2 separate regions of the Homo sapiens genome follow, and region 2 is linked to region 1. Evidence: promoter capture Hi-C in 16 types of primary human blood cells and fetal thymus (Javierre and others, 2016). All regions are on one chromosome and are shown on one strand. The core of a region is centred on a gene start or on the middle of the fragment in contact, and the rest is flanking DNA. Distances in the headings are between cores, read along the strand shown. Region 1 holds the start of PEX19 (peroxisomal biogenesis factor 19). Region 2 overlaps ARHGAP30 (Rho GTPase activating protein 30).

Region 1 (7,702 bases), core at 382-2,881:
CCATCCCTTAAGGGGGTGGAATTTATACTTTGGCAGTGTCTCCTGGCGATCTCTTCTGGGGCCCCGAAGCATCAGGGGCCGTGGTGGTAGAAGGGGGTGCTGGGGAGGGTTTGGCTTTATCGAAATCATCAAGAGCACCTTCAGAGACAAGAGACATGGTGTGTGTGTTGGCGACAGATGAGAATGCAAGCAAGGCTGGGTGGTTTCTGGGCAAAGCATTAGGAATATGATTTTTCAAATTGCCAACTTTCCTCAATTTTCCTCCTTGAGTCCCCCACCTCCCCAGACCACCCTCAATGAGCCTCCTACTTCCTTCTGGATTACCTAATTTATTGTGAGCAAAGGCAAAGAAATCCCTTAAGGTGGAACAAATGTCCATCTCAGAGCTGGGAGGAGAGGATTAAAAAGTTCTGCAGAGACATCTCCATCTATAGTGTCTCCCTTGCCACACCCTAACGATTCCCTAGAAATCCCATACAAATACCCAACAGTAGTAGAGAACACAGATGTCCTCATCCCTCTGAACTCACTCTGGAGCTCTAAAAGGAATAACTTGGTGAGAAAGCACAGGACATCCCACCCAGCTTCCTGTTGGTACTGGTACCAGCACAGACTGAGGGACTACATACCAGACTCCATGGTACGGCATTAAACTATCTTCTCTTATTCTCCAGTTTAGTGCTCCCCAACAACCTTCTAGAGCTCCCTTTGGCCTGATCTCTGCAGATAACCGTACACTAATTTACACAGTCACTTGGCACTCCTCAGGGTTTCTGTTCATTTTTCTGCCTGCCCACATCTCCGTGATTGAGCAAGCGATTACAAATTCACCTCTGCCCTGAAAAGCCTGTGTCCTCACCACCATTCTGTTCGCCAGGCCTAGGGAGAGAGCACTGGCCCTACTCTGGGCAGGAAGTCAACAGGGGAGTGGAGAGTAATGCTAAGAAAACATCCCCCGTCTTTCAGGAGGGTGAACTGCTTTCCCCTGAAATCGCCACATCCTCAGTTTCTCAAAATAAGGGAAAGGAGTCCGCTTGAGCTACTGACAAGATGAAAGAACTGTTAAGGGGCCTAACGAGAGAAAGAGAAAAGGACTAGGAGGAGAAAAGTGTCTTTCGTGTTAAGGAAGACAGGACGAGGCACACAAGGACCGGCCACGAGCTTGCTAGGAGTTAATGTAAGCAATCAGTGAGTGCGTAGTTCGCTACCCAGCAAGAACCAAATGCTGCTGCTGCTGCTACTGCTGCTGAAGTCGAACTTTAAGAACTCAGTAACCTAAAGAGGAGTTTGAAGAGGTATCATGAAACGCCGTCCTGCGGAAACATCCACCATCCGGACCACTGAGGGACCCCAGGTGAGCTCCCCAGCTCCAGTCGCCGGGGTGGGGCAGGATGACCCAGAGATTTTTGGGGGGCTCGGGGGTCAGACTCTCCGCCCCCATTTAACCTTTGGAGAGCCTCTCCTGCCCGTCCCTAATATCTCAGGTTCACTTAACCCCCAGAATGGGTCCTCACACGTGCCCTCTTCGGGCCTTTCCCACTATGGGCTCTTACTTTCCAGAAGCTCCTCCAATTCCCTGTCCGCTTCGGCCCCGACACTACAGCCTTCCTCAGCGGCGGCCATCTTGCTACCTCCGACTTGCCGTAGGAGGCGGGACCTCCTCGGTGCCGACACGCCCTCCACCCCTTCGCTCCCGCCCTCTTCTGCCTCGGGTAACCAATGGTATTGTTGACCAGTGCGGAACCGCCATTTTTAAAGGGCCAGGAAGCTTTGAGTGTTTGTGTTTTGGGTATTTTTCCCTTTTCTCCTGTGAAACAGAATTAGGGATAAGATAGGGTTATTTTCTGTCTGGTTTTAGAGGCCCGGACTCCTTTCTTTCAACTTCCCAAATTACCTGGCGAAGCTCTTTCATTATTTTTTCCTGAGCTGTGAGTAGGCCAGATTGAGACAAACTGCCTACAAATAACCAGAATCTAAACATATATAATTGATATGACAATTATGGCACATAACATACTACTTTCTCTCACTTCATTTTTTTTTTTTTATTTTTTTTTGAGAAGGAATCTTGCTCTGTCGCCTACGCTGGAATGCAGTGGCGCCATCTCGGCTCACTGCAGCCTTGGCCTCCCGGGTTCAAGCGATTCTTCCTGCCTCAGCCTCCCGTGTAGCTGGGATGACAGGCGCGCGACACCACGTCCGACTAATTTTTGTAGAGACGGGGTTTTAACATGTTGGCCAGGCTGGTTGGCCAGGCTGGTCTCGAACTCCGGACCTCAGCTGATCCGCCCACCTCGGCCTCCCGAAGTGCTGGGATTACAGGCGTGAGCCACTGCGCCCGGCTTCACTTCATTGTTTCCCTCAAATATTATCTTTTCTGAAACGCTTTCCTTGGCCATTCCCGTTCCTTTTCTTCCTAACACTGAACAGTATCTGACATACTATCTACCGTACTTTTTTATTCTCCGCTCCCCACCCTGCAGAATTTAAACACCATGAACGCAAAGATTTTCGTCTGTTGTCTTCACTGCTGTAAAGCCCAACTCCCAGGCTAGGGTTTAAAACTTAGTAGGCATTCATTGGCCACTCTTTGCTCTCGCAGTCCCTAATCAGGCACATCTGTCTGCCCAATCTAGTGGCATCTCTCATTTCCTATTATCTATTAGAACTGTTTGATTAAAGGACACAGGGCCGGCCAGGAACTTAGAACTCCATGTTATTAAGAGAGCCTCTGGTACCTTGGACTGAGCAGGGCAATTCGAATGCAGTAGTAATAGACTTACTTTCCCTGAACAATCTCCTTTTCTCCACACAGAACCCAACCTCCAACTGAGTGAACACGGGGAATGCTCAGATAGAGGTAACTCTAGACGTCCCTTTCCTCCTTTGGAATTGTTCTATTCAGATGTCAGAATGTAGCAACTGTTTCACATACAAATCTGTTTTCGCACTTAGAGAGCACCTATTATTAAGGTCTTGTTCTGGGCACAGTGAGGACAGAGAGATAAATCAGGACCACCCCCTGCTGTAAGGTAGCTAAGTGGGGGTGAGCCGGAGGTATGATGAGATATACACACAGTATGATACAAGGTAAGAATTTTAAATGAAAAAAAATCCTGTGTTAAGTCACCTCATCACTTTCATTCTTAGCTTCCTAAACACACATTTGAGTACTGCATCAAGCACCAGATCAAGCACTTACTATGTCCTTCACAGATAGGGCACAGACTTGTAAAATCATATCTGCAAAACCTGTTTTCTTCCAACCACAAGTAGTGTGTTTTGGGATCAAAATATTATGAACTGTGAGTTAGAAAGCCTAAATTCCAGCCCCAATTCTGCCACTAATCACTTTTGAAGTCCTTTACAATTCTAAACTTCTGTAATCAAATCCTTTCCTGATAAACCTGTTTTCCAACACCTGCAACATAATTTATTCCAGACTTTCTCATTCAAACTGCTTACACGTGTATCTCCAATATGGCTATAGTTGTAACAAGCACGTCAAAAAAAGAAAACTTGTCTATCAACAGGCATCTCTATTGGTTTTATTTTTTGAGACAGAGTTTCACTGTTGCCCAGGCTGGAGTGCAGTGGTGCAATTTTGGCTCACTGCAGCCTCCACCTCCCGGGTTCAAGTGATTCTCCTGTCTCAGCCACCTGAGTAGCTGGGTCTGCAGGCTCGCGCCACCATGCCCAACTAATTTTTGTATTTTTAGTAGAGACAGTGTTTCACCATATTGGCCAGGCTGGTCTTTAACTCCTGACCTCAAGTGATATGCCCACCTTGGCCTCCCAAAGTACTGGGATTATAGATGTGAGCCACTACACTTGGTCAATTGGCTTTAAACTAATGTAATATAAGCATGTTAATTAAAAGATAATAGATGATAATTAAAATGGAGTCAAAAACAAGCATGATTCTTTCTTTGCATTATTTCTTAAACTTCTTTCTGCTTTTCTATTTTTACTCCTAATATTCCTAACATCTCATCTCAGTATTTACTGACCTACTGACTGCTCCTTCTGCCCTTCTAATGTATAGCGAATACTGTTGAATAACAGTATTTTATAACGCTTTCATATCACTCTGTTCCTTAAGGATTTAATGGTTCTCCACAGTTTATCGAACAAATTCTAATTCTTGCCTGGGAGTCACAATTATTTCACATCTTGTATTTTTAGTAGAGACAGGGTTTCACCATGTTAGCCAGGATGGTCTCGATCTCCTGACCTCGTGTTCCGCCTGCCTTGGCCTCCCAAAGTGCTGGGATTACAGGCGTGAGCCACCACGCCCGGCCTTTTTTTTTTTTTAAGACAAAGTCTTGCTCTTGTCCCCTAGGCTGGAGTGCAATGGTGTGATCTCAGTTCACTGCAACCTCCGCCTCCCGGGTTCAAGCAATTCTCCTGCCTCAGCCTCCTGAGTAGCTGGGATTACAGGTGCCTGCCACCCTACCCAGCTAATTTTTGTATTTTTCGTAGAAACAGGGTTTCACCGTGTTGGCCAGGCTGTTCTCGAACTCCTGACCTCAGGTGATCTGCCTGCCTTGGCCTCCCAAAGTGGTGGGATTACAGGCGTGAGCCACCACTCCCGGCTAATATGTACATTTTTTTTTTTTTTGAGACGAAGTCTCGCTCTTGTACCCCAGGGTGGAGTGCAATGGCACAATCTCATTAGTAGTATGTACTCTGTTGAGAAGGCAGCCTTAGTTTAGGGATGCTGTTTAAAAAAGCAACTCTTAAGATAAAGCTAAAAAATACAACGTATAGTATGAAGAGAAGTAAAAAACAAAGTGAAGCTCCCTAATATATTGATACGAGAAAATACCAAAAATGTTAAATGAAAAAACAAAGGTACAAAATTGTTAAATAGTGTGGTTTCATTTGTGTATAAAAGGAGATAGAGAATGGCATAGTGATATCAGCATGTGCATGTATATGTGTGTGTGTGTATATATATATATATATAAAATTTCTGGAAGGATGTAAGAAAGCTGGTAACAGTGGTTACCTGTTTAGGGGAAGGTGATAGGAACTGGGTGGCTGATGAAAGGGTGGAAAGATTTGTCACAGAATAGCTTTTTATATTTACTGATTTTTCAACTATATGCATTTATTATTTATTGAAAACATGAATTTAACACGCAAAAAAGTACTTATTTTAATCGAAGGCACAGTAATGTCACTCTACCCAATTATTCTTAGCATATGACAAGCAAAATATTGTATTGTTAATGTAATCATTGTATCATTGTAATATATATAAAGTACTATTCTTTTATCTGTATATTACATGTAAAATATCTAGAACAGTGACAGTCACATGGCAGGTGCTCAATAAATATTGCTATAATTAGCAAAAGATAAAAGGCTGCAATCAAAAACAGAATAAGGGAGCTACTTGCTTTCTATCATTTTCACAGCAGTTTAGGTCCTCATATATACCCTATGAAAAACATGTGCTTCTTTTTTTCTTTCTTTTTTTTTGAGATGGAGTCTCACTCTGTCGCCCAGGCTGGAGTGCGGTGGCGCGATCTCAGCTTACTGCAACCTCCGCCTCCCGGGTTCAAGCAATCCTCTGCCTCAGCCTCCAGAGTAGCTGGGATTACAGGCACCCACCACCATGCCCGGCTAGCTTTTTTTTTTTTTTTCCAATAGTGGATGTTTATTTTGTAATTAAAAATTATTACTGGAAGGAAGATATGTACTTTGGTGGGGTGCCTGCATGGGTGAACAAGAACATGAGAGTGTCCAAGAAATAAATGGCCAAGTCAAGAAGCTCTCATAGAGATTTATTTAGTGTGAGAAATATGAGAACAATAGTTGTAAAGAACAAATCAATAACCCGCAGTGTGCATTTTGGAAAACCAAATAACTTCTTCAAATTTCTGAGTACACAGAGGGTACCTGCCTTGAAATTTAAATGTCTAAGGAAAATGGGAGATGATTAAGAGTTGGTGTGGCCTAGTCACACCAAAATGTATTTATTACATCCTGCTCCTTTCTAGTTGACAGGAAAGAAAGCTGCTGTGGGGAAAGGAGGGATAAATACTGAAGGGATTTACTAAACAAATGTCCATCACAGAGTTTTCCTTTTTTTTTTTTTTGAGACAGAGTCTTGCTCTGTCACCCAGGCTGGAATGAAGTGGTATGATCTCAGTTGAATGCAACCTCCACCTCCTAGGTTCAAGCGATTCTCATGCCTCAGCCTCCTGAGCAGCTGGGACTATAGGCGCATGCTACCATGCCAGGCTAATTTTTATATTTTTATTAGAGACGGGGTGTTGCCATGTTGGCCAGGCAGGTCTCGAACTCCTGGCCTCAGATGATCTGCCCACCGTAGCCTCCCAAAGTGCTGGGATTACAGGTATGAGCCACTCCACCCAGCCCAGAGTTTTCATTTGTTCCTTAAAATAATTAAGCTGGAAAGGCAAGGACAATTATGAGCACAACTGTAGTCAAGTTGAGAAGACCTCAAAAAAGTCAAGTTTAGACCTTCGGATTTTCCATAGAAGAGAAAAAGATACTAGGTTTTAGGGTACAGAGAGCCAGATCTGAAGAGTAGCTGCAGGGGGAAGGTGCTGTTAGAAGGAGGATATAGACACATTCTCTGGGGGGAACATATGGTGACTGACCCATGCACACAAAGGGGGCCTTAGCGAAACTGCAGAGGACTGATCCTTAAACCAATCACATCTTTGCCAATCTCTGTCACCTGTGGAAAAACAAACAAAGGAACAAGTTAGAGATTTGTAAGATTGAGAACCCTAGAAAATGTATTCCCTATACCCCTCAATGGGCACAGTAGACAGGTATTGGGGTGTTCATCACTGACTGGCCAAGAGCAGTGGGGAGATGCTCTAGCTTTCTCCAGTGTCACTGCCTCAGGGAGCAGGGGACAAGCACAAGAAGAAAAAAAGGACCACCATGTTTCTTTCTTTTTCCCCTTCGCTCAATATCCTAGATATATTTATTGAGGACAGTACTTACTGTGGTGACCCTGCAGATTTGACCTTTGAACTCAGGGGAATAGCAGGCCCCACTGAGTGGACACTTTTCTACTGGCTTTCCACGGTAGATGGGCCGATATGATGCAGCACAAATGTCAAAGGGGTTGTGCATGTCATAATTGAGCTGGTAGGCATCTGTGGGATTCTTCTCACAGGCAGACAGGATTTTTCGGGTCTAGGGGAAGGAAGGAGTATTTAGGAGGACAGAAGGCTGCAGACAACACCTCAAAGGATCCCAACACCATGGTTTGGTAGTTCCGTTGATGTGAGACACAACTGTACTGCGTGAAAAGAGGTCCCAACCTCTGTACTGGATGTATGTGAAGGGTTAACAATCACCATTCCTATTGTATCAAACTTTCCCCTTCTCAATACAAAAGTGGCTCCATAATCTAGACCCACATTCCTCCACCAACTCTAGAGATTATCAGGGTCAGGTCCTAGAAAGGGTTAAAACAGACTTCCATCACCCAAAAAGAATGCATTTGGAGGACACAAGTAATGAGATGTGTATGTGAAGCTTTGTGGTGGTTGTGATGGGATATCTGGAGCTTAAGGACAGGACTGGGGTTACTTTCAGCTGCAGTGGAGCTATTCTAGGTTGCACGGCACTCTTAGACGAGTGCCATGTCTCAATAAACTATTAATTTTCCAGGAACAAAGGAAACACCAAGTCAGGAAGTAAACAGAGG
Region 2 (6,030 bases), core at 343-2,842, 770 kb after region 1:
GGTGGCTCCACAGAGAACTCCTCCACCTGTAGGCACAGCATTGTGACTCAGGACCAGGAGGCCCTGTCCACCCTTGACTCCATGCCACCCCCAAACCCAGCACGGCTCTCCTTACCTGAGGCCCAACTCCCAGGAGCTCCTCCAGGTAGCCCATCCCAGGGTCGTCCTCCCCAGGGGAGAAGGCTGCTCCTGCTGCTTCTGCCTGGGCCACCTCCCCATCCTCTGCCCCCACCCACTCAGGTTCTGAGCTGCTTGAGTCCTCTAGGAAGGAGAAGGAGTCCTGCACCTCCTGGGACAGCGAGTCCTCCAGGGCAGGAGCCAAGTCGTCTGGGCCTGAGTCTGCCAGGGGACTTGAGGCTGGACTTGCTTCCAACTTTTCATCTGTTGGGGGAGAAGTAGTCCCAGGAATACAAAGGTCAAGCCCTGACCCTTTTCAGTGTGAGTCCTCCTAGCATTGATATAGCAGGGGCCCAGCACTCCCAGCATTGCTACTCTGCATGACTGATCCTTTCAGACCAATGTCCCTAGTTATTGGCTTGCTACCTTAATTGAGACCCTACCAGGTGCCAAGCACTGTGCTATGTATTTTACAATGCATTGGCATTTTTTCCTCCAAACTATTATGTGGGGTATTGTCCTCATTTTACATATGAGGAAACTGAGGCTCAGAGAGATTAAGCAATTTGTCTAAGGTCATGTAATGAATAAGCAGTACAGCCAAAATTTGAACCCAAGTCTACTTAACTCTATAGCCCATGTTCTTACCCACTATCCTATCCTGCCTCAGGACTTCTCATGAGTGACACTTCAGGAACTGGAGTCAGAGCAAGGATCAGATCCTAGCTCTGCTACTTCTACCTAAATCAATTGCAAATTGATTAACCTAAGTCTCAGTTTCCACTGCTGTAACATAAGGCTAACAATACCTATGTCATAAGATTATGAGAAAATGAAACAAACCAATCCTGCAATCACAGCACTTGGACCTTTTTTTTTTTTTTTTTTTTTGAGACGGAGTCTTGCTATGTCTCCCAGGCTGGAGTGCAGTGGCGCAATCTCAGCTCACTGCAACCTCCACCTCCTGGGTTGAACCAATTCTCCTGCCTCAGCCTTCTGAGTCTCTGGGATTACAGGCATGCCTCACCACGCACGCCTGGCTAATTTTTTTTTAATTTTTTTTAGTAGAGACGGGGTTTCACCATGTTGACCAGGCTGGTCTCGAACTCCTGACCTCCAGTGATCCACCCTCCTCAGCTTCCCAAAGTGTTGGGATTACAGGTGTGAGCCACCGTGCCTGGCCTAGCACTTGGTACTTAATAAACTGTTTTTTGTTTTTTTTTTTTTAATTTGAGACAGAGTTTTGCTCTTGTCGCCCAGGCTAGAGTGCAGTGGCGTGATCTCGGCTCGCTGCAGCCTCTGCCTCCTGGGTTCAAGCGATTCTCCTGCCTCAGCCTCCCAAGGAGCTGGGACCGCAGGCATCTGCCACCACACCTGGCCAGTTTTTTGCATTTTTAGTAGAGATGGGGTTTCGCCATGTTGGGCAGGCTGGTCTTGAACTCCTGACCTCAGGTGATCTGCCTGCCTAGGCATCCCAAAGTGCTGGGTTTACAGGCATGAGCCACGGCGCCTGGCTGGTACTTAATAAACTCTTGCTAAATGTTAGCTGATAGTATTGATGTTACTATTATTGTTACCCATCCATCTATTATATATTCCCACATTTGTCCTTAGTAATCCCTGCTGTATGTTTCTGACACAGGCCCCTATTCTTGGGTACATCAATGTTCTGAAGGCTGCTAGAGATCTCCTCTCCATAGATTTCACATAGCCTGATAATATTACTGGATTTCCCTAATCCTGAATCTAGGGAGGCAGCTAAAGGTAACCACCCCAAAGCCCAAGGGCTGAGGCCTCTGCCCTTCCTAGGGTGGATCTTCCAGCATCAGAGCTTCAGCCTAGAGTTCCAGTCCCCTTTCCTAGTCTTGGTCAATCAATGGGTCCTCACCTGGGGGGCCAGGGCCAAGGCCAGGGCCAGGGCCAGGGCCAGAGGCAGGGCTTGGCCGGTGCTGTAGAGCAGGGCACTCAAGGCCACGGGTGAGCCTGGCCAAGGAAACGTTAGAGATGATGTTCGGGGGCACACTGAGGATAGAGGTGATGTGTAGCGGGAGGTTGACATTGTAGGGGTCTGAGATGTGGACACCAGCACAGCGTTCTGCACGGCTGCTGCCCCCAGCCCGGATGGCTGACCGCCCAGCTCGTGGTGTGCCTGGTTCAGAGTTTGTGCCACCCAGTGCTTCTGCCTCAGGCTCCTGTTCACCCTCTGCTGCCTCTATAGAATCGTTCTCCAAGCTCTCAGGCAGCAATGGGCTTGGCCGGGGGCTGCTGGGCCCCACCAGCCCCTCTGGCTCTGTGGAGGAAAAAGAGGGCCAGGTAGGCAATAGCCTAAACTCCAAGGGGCCTAGACATCTCAAGAAGGCTCTGGAGAATGCTCTCTGCTTTCTCAGGCTTGAAAGCAACGATAGCCTGGAAGGCACCAGGCCCAGCTTCTTTTGATCACTACTGCAAACTTTTCACCCAGCCAGTAGGTCAAAGATCACCTCACCTTCACATACCTAGGGAACTCCCTTCCTTCCCTGCAGATACAGTCACTGGCCGTTGTCACCACCACCACCACCACCACCACCACCACCACCACCACCACCACCACCACCACCACCACCACCACCACCACCACCACCACCACCACCACCACATACCCATGCTGTCCCATCCCATACGAACACTCATCAACAAAGTCATAGATTAGACAATCAACTCACCGTAGCATTCAGCTACATTTACAATGTGGCTGGTATATAATAGGCACTCATTAAATATTTTTTGAAATTATTGAACACAGTTGGCTGCATGTACACACAAGCCCACGCTGGTCACATAGCACACACACATACACACAGAAATGCACCCCTATACTCACCATCACTGGCCCCAGCTGCAGCACTCAGTGAGTCCATGCTTTTGGCTGGCCGCAGTGTCCCCTTGTTGGATTTATCCTCTGTAAGACAGGGATGTGTGTAGAGCCAGGGCCTTGTGCACCCTCAGCAGAGCTCCCCCCATCTCCCCAGACTTACCCCTGTCCTCAGCCCCCCGTGGAAGTTTACGCTTAGTCTCATGGCCAGAGCGACCTAAATTGAAGATAGACCTCCACTTCCTGACCTTCAAAGACCCCTTCCTCCTACAAAGAATGGAGGGGCATAATTGGAGGTTGGAACATGAAGGTCGGTGCAGGGGAGGAAGGCCCAGGAAGGAGGCCTTACTTGTGCTCTGCAATCTCGATGATAGTATGGTAGGGCCGCATCTGTGGGGGTCCATCGCCAGCCTGCAGTATGCTAGGCAGGTGATAAGGCAGTGGCCTGGGCATAAGGTCCTCGGGGCTGCCTGATGCCCGGGTCCCTGGAAGCGATCGCCACCCACTCTCCACCTCACCACCTGGGAAAAGAAAAGGAATTGGCCAGCCAGGAACAGAGCCAAGAGAGGGACCTCAGGCACCCAATCCTTCATCACCCCTCGCCAACTACCAGGTTAGGGATATATTCAGAAGCCCCTGAAGACAGTGCCTCCATGTCCATCACCTCAAAAGAGTGCCCTCATGGACAAAGAGGGCTGGGAGATCCGAGAACGTTGGCCTGGTGGGCTGGGGGTGGATATGAGCCATCACTAGCCTTGGGAGCCAGGATGGTGACTCAGAGGTCAAGCCATGCCCTAGACTGACAGCAGAAGAAGTCTTCTCAAGTCCTGACTGCACAATTATCTCCCCAGGGTTCTCTCCATGTGGCCACTACCAACATCCCTGTATGAGACTCAGCTGAAGTAGGTGATCTTCAAGGCTCTCTGTAACTAACTTGACTCCCCAACAGTGGGATATGTGGAGGGCAGGAAGGACACTGACCAGAGAGGGCAGCACCCCCAAAGAGCTGGTCCACGTGTGTGAGGATGAACTCCACGACGATGGATTGTACCCGCACCTCCATGAAGGCCGCTGTCCCATTGAAGCCTGAGGCCTCTATGTCCTTAGACCTGTGGAGATGTGGAATTATTCTCCCCCTCAGCCCCACCAAACTTCCCAATCCAGATTCTCCCTGAAAATACCTTATTCTCTCTCTCTCTCTCTCTCTCTCTCTCTCTCTCTCTCTCTCTCGAATGACCTTAACCCCTTCTCTACCTCTTAAATTGTATGCATAATTCTTCCAATTCTCAAATGCCACTTGAAGACTTCTAGGAAGGAAGCCTTCTTGGACACCCGCCTCAGGATTAATCTCTATTTCCTTTGCACACCAGGGTGTCTAGTTTATAATGAATTTTATAATGAATTACAGGACTTCTCATAGTCTGTCTTGGACCACAGTGAGTGATATGCACAGTGAGCACAGCCAACAGACTGCAAGACGTTTTGCTCAACAAACATTTGGCGTGAGGCCGGACAGAGTGGCTCACACCTGTAATCCTAGCACTTGCACAGGGAGGAGGTGGGTGGATCACCTGAGGTCAGGAGTTCAAGATCAGCCTGACCAACATGGTGAAACCCCTTCTCTCTACTAAAAATACAAAAATTAGCCAGGCATGGTGGCTCATGCCTGTAATCCCAGCTACTCAGGAGGCTGAGGCACGAGAATCCCTTGAACCCAGGAAGCGGAGTTTGCAGTGAGTTGAGATCGCACCGCTGCTCTCCAGCCTGGGCAACAGAGCAAGACTCTGTCTCAAAAACAAACAAAAAATTGATATGGAACTGTTATGTTCCAGTCCCTGAGCTCAGTGACACACTGTAGGAAAACACAAAAGTCCTGCCTTTTAGGGACTTTATTTGATCACAGAGAAGGGACTAAAATAGATGGGGCCCATCCGACCCACCATGATCTTGAACCTTCTTTTCTCACTGGGCTTTGTGAGCCCTACACCCTTCTCCAGTGTACCCACACAGTCACACCTCATCCTGGGAGCAGCCTCCCAAAGGCCAGTGTCTCACAGGATCCCCATACACTGCTCACACAGGCACCTACCTCAGCAGGTTGGGAGCCCACACGATGGCCAGGTTGCGAGCATGCATGTTGGTCTGGGCACTGAATGAGGCCATGTGTACCAAGTGCCTCATGAGGAACTCCAGGGTCCTGCAGAAAGCGGGGGCAGGGATCACACAGGGAATGCCCAGGGCAGGCATTAGGGCTGGGACCTGGGAGCAGTAGGACCCAGTTAAGGCTCCAGGCAGCGAGTGAATGAGTTGTCTCAGGTTGCTGGGCAGATATGGAGTGTCACATACCTGTAGTTTGGGACAGGGAGTTCCCGAAGCACCTCTAGGATCTTGACCAAGCGCTCAGGTTCCAATTGCACTCCTACAGCCTCCTGATTGAGAAGAGTGCAAGAAGCAGGAATCAGTGACCCAGCAATGCCCCTGCTTACTCCCCAGAGCTTGTAACCAAGTTCTCAGGAACAATGTGCACTGGACTCTGTGCTACCCCATCCTACATCATCTGCGGTGCACTGACTTGGTAGAGAGAGCTCAGAATTGGGGTCCACGAAGATGGCAGCTGAATTTTGGTTATGCCACTTAATAGCTTTTGTGAACTTGGCAACTCGCTGCCTTACCATCCTCCATCCGTAGAGCTCTGGTACTGGGATACTTCAGTGGCGCCACCCTGTGGGTGCCCCAGGGACCACAGAGTTATTTCAGTGTGTCCAGGAAAGCTGTCCCCCACCCCAACCTAGCCGGTGTGGACTGAGCAGGGTGCTGCTAGGATTTAGGGTCTCTCAGTGCTCTTATGCTCAATAAAGTGCAACTTATTTTTAAAGTGTTACTCAATTCAAAATAGCATATTTTTCATGTGTTTTCGCATTTAAAAGATGTTCAGGCTGGGCACAGTGACTCACACCTGTAACACCAGCACTTTGGGAGCTGAGTTGGGAGGATTTCTTAAGCTTAGGAGCTTGAGACCAGCGTGGGCAACACAGCAAGACCTTGTCTCTACTAAAAATTTT

The links. Contacts are between HindIII fragments. The CHiCAGO score rates a contact against its expected background, and 5 or more counts as called.
Region 2: a fragment that was not itself captured here is called in contact with the fragment with the promoter of PEX19 in region 1 in 1 of 17 cell types (fetal thymus); the score reaches 7.6 in fetal thymus.

Annotation. Positions count from the first base shown.
Region 1 is chr1:160,283,502-160,291,203 of GRCh38, forward strand. It overlaps PEX19 (peroxisomal biogenesis factor 19), which reads right to left and starts at 1,632. Exons shown (of 8, transcript NM_002857.4): 1 at 1,554-1,632; 2 at 29-138. The coding sequence starts at 1,623. It overlaps LOC107985219 (a long non-coding RNA gene), which reads left to right and starts at 864. Exons shown (of 3, transcript XR_001738265.2): 1 at 864-1,354; 2 at 2,816-2,860. It overlaps COPA (coat protein complex I subunit alpha), which reads right to left. Exons shown (of 33, transcript NM_004371.4): 32 at 6,991-7,185; 33 at 5,093-6,715. The coding sequence ends at 6,656. The HindIII fragment of the contact is 4,290 bases long and covers 1-1,766 here.
Region 2 is chr1:161,049,309-161,055,338 of GRCh38, forward strand. It overlaps ARHGAP30 (Rho GTPase activating protein 30), which reads right to left. Exons shown (of 12, transcript NM_001025598.2): 4 at 5,315-5,397; 5 at 5,058-5,165; 6 at 3,950-4,077; 7 at 3,318-3,489; 8 at 3,132-3,235; 9 at 2,978-3,055; 10 at 2,006-2,407; 11 at 116-381; 12 at 1-26. Among named protein-coding and RNA genes, the nearest start is that of USF1, 6.3 kb to the left of the region's middle. The HindIII fragment of the contact is 8,752 bases long and covers 1-5,968 here.